Linked DNA regions of Homo sapiens: region 1 is linked to region 2. Evidence: promoter capture Hi-C in human tissues and cell types (Jung and others, 2019). All regions are on one chromosome and are shown on one strand. The core of a region is centred on a gene start or on the middle of the fragment in contact, and the rest is flanking DNA. Distances in the headings are between cores, read along the strand shown. Region 1 overlaps TUBA1C (tubulin alpha 1c). Region 2 holds the start of BCDIN3D (BCDIN3 domain containing RNA methyltransferase).

Region 1 (2,956 bases), core at 254-2,753, 570 kb after region 2:
TCTCGTGTGACTAATACTTTATTAAAGACTGACAGCAATAGTTCTGGCAGTGTGGCTGGGCACTTGAATTTTGGCTCCAGCAGTTACTGTTATCTAACCCTTTGCTACTGTACATGTGGTCACATCAGACCAACAGCATCATTTGGGAGGTTATTAAAAAACGTATCTAGGGGCCAGGTGTAGTGGCTCACTCCTGTAATCCCAGCACTTTGGGAGGCTGAGGCAGGATTGCCTGAGCCCAGGAGTTCAAGGCCAGCCTAAGCAACATGGCAAAACCCCATCTCTACCAAAAAAAAAAAAAAAAAAAAAAAAAAAAATTACAAGAATCAGCCAGGCATGGTGGAACACACCTGTAGTCCTGGCTACTTGGGAGGCTGAGGTGGGAGGATGGCTTAGCCCAGGTCAAGGTGGGGGTGAGCTATGATGGTGCCATTGCACTGCAGCCTGGGAAAGAGACCATCTCAAAGAAAAAAAATTTAAGACGTGTCTGAAGCCTCACCTCAAGCCTATAGAATTAGAACCTGCATTTTGTTTTTAAATTTGAGAGTCAGGGGTCTCCGTCACCCAGGCTGGAATGCAGTGGTGCAATCATGGCTCACTACCTCAACCTCCTTGGGCTCAGGTGGTCCTCCCACCTATAGGCAGGTGCCATCACAGCATGCAAATTTTTGTTTTGGTAGAGATGGGTTTTCACCATGTTGCCCAGGCTGGTCTCGAATTCCTGGGCTCGTGATCCACCCAACTTGGCCTCCCGAAGTGCATGAGCCACCAGGTTGACCCCAAACCTGCATTTTAATATCTACAGGTGATTCACATCCATTTTAGTTAGAGAAGCACTGGCTCAATCTGAACCCGTTTCCTCACTTACAAAATGATTCTATAACCACTTAATTCAGGCCCAAATTAAACAGATAAACCAAGAAGCTGGGCAGTGGCTCATGCCTATAATCAAAACTTTGAGAGGTTGAGGCAGGAGGATCACTTGAAGCCAGTTGAAGACCACCCTGGGCAGCATAGCAAGGCCCCATCTCTACAAGAAATAAAAATAGCTGGGCATGGTGGTGTGCACCTGCAGTCCCCAGCTACTTAGGAGGCTGAAGCAGGAGAATCACATGAGTCCAGGAGCTCGAGGCTGCAATGAGCTATGTATTATCATGCCACTGCACTCCAGCCTGGGTGACAGAGCAAGACCCTCGACTCAGGTGGTTTCATCTACCAGCCTCATACATCCAACTTTAACTGGATCAAGTATTTAAGTCAGCTCGACATTTAAAATGGAAACTTCAATTTTATTAACAATTTACGGCAATAGACATTTACAGAACAAAAATAAGACAGTTCCAAGACAAAGGAGTGTAAAAGTACAGCACACAGGTTAATACTCTTCACCCTCATCCTCTCCGTCAGCACTATCTGCTCCAACCTCCTCATAATCCTTCTCAAGGGCAGCCATGTCCTCACGGGCCTCTGAAAACTCGCCTTCCTCCATCCCCTCACCCACGTACCAGTGAACAAAGGCACGCTTGGCATACATCAGGTCAAACTTGTGGTCCAGGCGAGCCCAGGCCTCGGCAACAGCTGTGGTATTGCTCAGCATGCACACAGCTCTCTGTACCTTGGCCAGGTCTCCGCCAGGCACCACAGTGGGAGGCTGGTAATTAATGCCAACCTTGAAGCCAGTGGGGCACCAATCCACAAACTGGATGGTACGCTTGGTTTTGATGGTGGCAATGGCAGCATTGACATCTTTGGGAACCACGTCACCACGGTATAACAGGCAGCAAGCCATGTATTTACCATGGCGAGGGTCACATTTCACCATCTGGTTGGCTGGCTCAAAGCAAGCATTGGTGATCTCTGCTACAGTAAGCTGTTCGTGGTAGGCTTTCTCAGCAGAGATGACAGGGGCATATGTGGCCAGAGGGAAGTGGATGCGGGGGTAGGGCACCAGGTTGGTCTGGAATTCTGTCAGGTCAACATTCAGGGCTCCATCAAATCTCAGGGAAGCAGTGATGGAGGACACAATCTGGCTAATAAGGCGGTTAAGGTTAGTGTAGGTTGGGCGCTCGATATCGAGGTTTCTACGACAGATGTCATAGATGGCCTCATTGTCTACCATGAAGGCACAATCAGAGTGCTCCAGGGTGGTGTGGGTGGTGAGGATGGAGTTGTAGGGCTCAACTACAGCTGTGGAAACCTGGGGCGCCGGGTAAATGGAGAACTCCAGCTTGGACTTCTTGCCATAATCAACTGAGAGACGTTCCATGAGCAGCGAGGTGAACCCAGAACCAGTTCCCCCACCAAAGCTGTGGAAAACCAAGAAGCCCTGAAGACCGGTGCACTGGTCAGCCTGCAAAATAAAAAAGTTTCATTTTAGTGTTGCGAAAGTTTCATTTAGTGTTCACATTTGGTGAAACCTACAGAGGACTTCTATAAATCTATGGCTACTCCAATTGCAATTTTAAAACTCTTCTGGGCCAGGCGCAGTGGCTCACGCCTGTAATCAACACTTTGGGGGTCCAAGGTGGGAGGACCATTTGCATTTGAGCCCAGGGGTTCAAGACTGATGATCAGGCCACTGCACTCCAGCCTGGATGACAGAGCAGACCCTGTCTCCAAAAAAAAAAAAAAGCTTTTAAGTGCTAAGTGATTCAGAACAACTTTTCACAATCAAGTCCTTGAGCAGAAAAACCTTTGCTAAGACTATTTTAAGATGAACTATTGCCTTAGGCAGAGGAATCACAAGGCCTGGGCTTGCATACAGGGCTCAAGTTTTGGTAACTGGGAAGGCAGCCTCTGGTTCTCTTGCTGTGGCCACAGAACAGGGCAGTTTCTTAGTTGGAGAGGTCCTAAGGGGCAGGCCCAGGACCACCAGCCTGGTACAGTGGATGTCTTGTAAAGATTTGGCAGCTGCTTTCTGAGGTGGAACAACAGAATAGCCAAAGTTCTAACACCC
Region 2 (2,752 bases), core at 69-2,568:
TCTATCTCAAAAAAAGGAGAAAAGAAAAAGAAAATATAAAGTAAAAACTGAGAGGAAAACAGCGCTTATTTTAACTCCTGATGGTACTGTTTGCAGGAGTCATGCTCCAGTGCCTTATAAGAAGTTTACCGAACTGCCAGCCTCATGGAGCAGGATACCCCTTTAAGATGGGTGGGCCAGGTGCAGGGGTGGGGTTGGGGGTCCTGCACAACTCTGCTGATGCTTGGTTGACCCTGACGGATATTCTGGGCCATCCTGGCTTTTGACTGGAACCTGCTACCTAGGTTGACCCTTCAGTTCCTCTCCTTATCAGCTCTGTTATTTCCAATCTCTGAGTCACATCTTGCCCAACTCCATTCCACTATGTCTGCTTCAGTTGGCATCCTTTCTCCCTTCCATTTAAAGTTTCCCCAAACAGATCTGGCCTTATTGTATTCTCTATTGAGTTTTCATTCAACAACATTTGTTGAGCATCTTTGTGCCAGGCCCATGTTAAGTATAGGAGACTCAAGGCTGAGAATAACACACCGTTGCAAGCACATCCTCTGGATCCAAACTCCCTGGGTTCGAATCCTAGTACCATCATTTCTAACTGTGGGATCTTGGACAAGTTACTTTGTTTTACTCCAGTGTCCTCATCTATATAAAAAGAATAATAATACGGTCATTTTCTCACGGGGTGAGAGGATTGACTAAGGAGCTTACAAGGGTGTCTGGTGCCTGGTAAGCACTCTTTAAGTGCTGGCTCTTAAGGCACGGTCCTTGCCTCTCAAGGAGCTCATGGTCTACAGTTGCCCCTGGGGGACAGGGCTGAGTCGGCTGGCTTCGCAAGTGACCTGCACCTCCTGGCTACCCTTTCCTGAACCGGGTGGAAGTTTTTGAGTCACAGATTCAATGTATGACCCCAGACAAGTAAGTTCTCTCGGTCTCACTTTTTGCATTTATAAAGAAAGGAAATTGGACTAAAATTGATTTCCAAGATCCCAACAAACTAGTATACTTGTTCTGGGTCAAGTAGCCCAAGTTTCAAACTATGTCAGCTTGGCCAAGACACTTAGCCCTCAGAGTTTGTTTCATCCCTGTAAAACGTGGATGATATTGCTAATCCCCTCCCAGTGTTGTGATGAGGGTTCAATAATACAAGGCAAGCCCCAGGCGCTCGCCGGCTCCAGGTATACAGCGAGAGGAAATCAGGACAGCTTTTCTGATTCACCGCAGAATTCTAGCCACCCGCCCTAGCCGTTCGACGCACGCGCGCTGGCACCGCCACCGCCCACGCCGACAGCAGGTTCCCGGCTTCCGGTTCCGCCACGGCCCAGAGGCTGTGTTGAGGCTAATGGCGGTGCCCACGGAACTGGATGGAGGGAGTGTTAAGGAGACCGCAGCGGAAGAGGAATCGCGAGTTCTGGCACCTGGCGCCGCCCCGTTCGGAAATTTTCCTCATTATTCTCGCTTCCACCCTCCGGAGCAACGGCTCCGCCTCCTGCCCCCGGAGCTGCTTCGACAGCTCTTTCCTGAGAGTCCCGAGAACGGGCCGATTCTGGGGCTCGACGTGGGGTGTAACTCCGGGGTGAGTGACAGGGGAGGGATTGGAGCATCCGGAGCCAAGTGGTTGGCTGCCTACACATCCACTGTGGTTCTGGCCTGGGCTAACACCCATCGAAACTTTCCCAAAACGAGTATAAAGCGTGGCTTTGACTGAGCCAGTGCCGCTGCTGCCTGCCCGCCAGGGTTCCACCATCTGTCTTAGGAATCTCTCTTGGAGAGGAGTCCTTGTCGACTACGTTCCCACTTTTCTTTCAGGGCCAGACCCCAGGTGGGAACGGTCCTTGTATCTAGGGTGGCCTCTGTCCAGCGTGCCTGGCGCTTTGGCTGGGGAGAGGGGGCTTCCAGAGACACACGTTTGGGAACATGGGGTTAGGTTTGGTTTACTGGGAGAGAAGAGCCAAGGGTGACAGAATCATGCCTGATATTGAGACTCATGTGTGCTATACAGTGCAGGACAGACCCTGGGACCTGCATGTTTATTTCAAAAAAAGTGAGTAGGCCGGGCGCGCTGGCTCACGCCTGTAATCCCAGCACTTTCGGAGGCCGAGGCGGGTGGATCACAAGGTCACGAGATCGAGACCATCCTGGCTAACACGGTGAAACCCCGTCTCTACTAAAAATACAAAAAATTAGCCGGTCGTGGTGGCGGGCGCCTGTAGTCCAGCTACTCCGGAGGCTGAGGCAGGAGAATGGCGTGAACCCGGGAGGCGGAGCTTGCAGTGAGCCGAGCTAGTGCCACTGCACTCCAGCCTGGGCGACAGAGCGAGACTCCGTCTCAAAAACAAAACAAAACAGTGAGTTGACAGAGTACAGTGGAGAGGATCGAGAAGCAAATAAAGCATTTTGCCCAAGGGAATGGAGAAGGGCGGCACTGCCACTCTTCTTGCTGCAAACTATTCTTAGGCATATGATTATAATCAAACCACATGCAAAATAAGGAAATGTCTCTCCCACACCTATTTGTAGCCACTGGGATATTCTACACTAGCAGGCAGTCTGAACTTACCACGGCAAATGCTTCAAAAGTTAGTACCCTCTCTGCGCTCCCTCCATCACTCCAGTCCAGCATCTGGAGGGCGGGGGACAATTCTGTTACGTTGCTGTCCTTTTACAGAAGAGACTTTGGGGGACGACTTCAGACCTTGTGGGACTCAGATGATAGTAGGAAGGGGACATTTGGATACAGTCTCAAAGACTGGAATGA

What was found. The method cuts DNA at HindIII sites, captures the fragments that hold promoters and counts their contacts. A contact is called where the count stands out against the background at its distance.
Region 1: a contact is called between a fragment that was not itself captured here and the fragment with the promoter of BCDIN3D in region 2, in 1 of the 25 tissues and cell types used here (dorsolateral prefrontal cortex).

The regions. Positions count from the first base shown.
Region 1 is chr12:49,271,647-49,274,602 of GRCh38, reverse strand. TUBA1C (tubulin alpha 1c) reads right to left here. Exons shown (of 4, transcript NM_032704.5): 4 at 3-2,350. The coding sequence ends at 1,376. Among named protein-coding and RNA genes, the nearest start is that of TUBA1C, 8.0 kb to the right of the region's middle. RefSeq lists a silencer at 323-617. The HindIII fragment of the contact is 6,713 bases long and covers 1-2,956 here.
Region 2 is chr12:49,841,672-49,844,423 of GRCh38, reverse strand. It overlaps BCDIN3D (BCDIN3 domain containing RNA methyltransferase), which reads left to right and starts at 1,318. Exons shown (of 2, transcript NM_181708.3): 1 at 1,318-1,570. The coding sequence starts at 1,337. RefSeq lists enhancers at 976-1,035, 1,606-1,975. The HindIII fragment of the contact is 12,873 bases long and covers 1-2,752 here.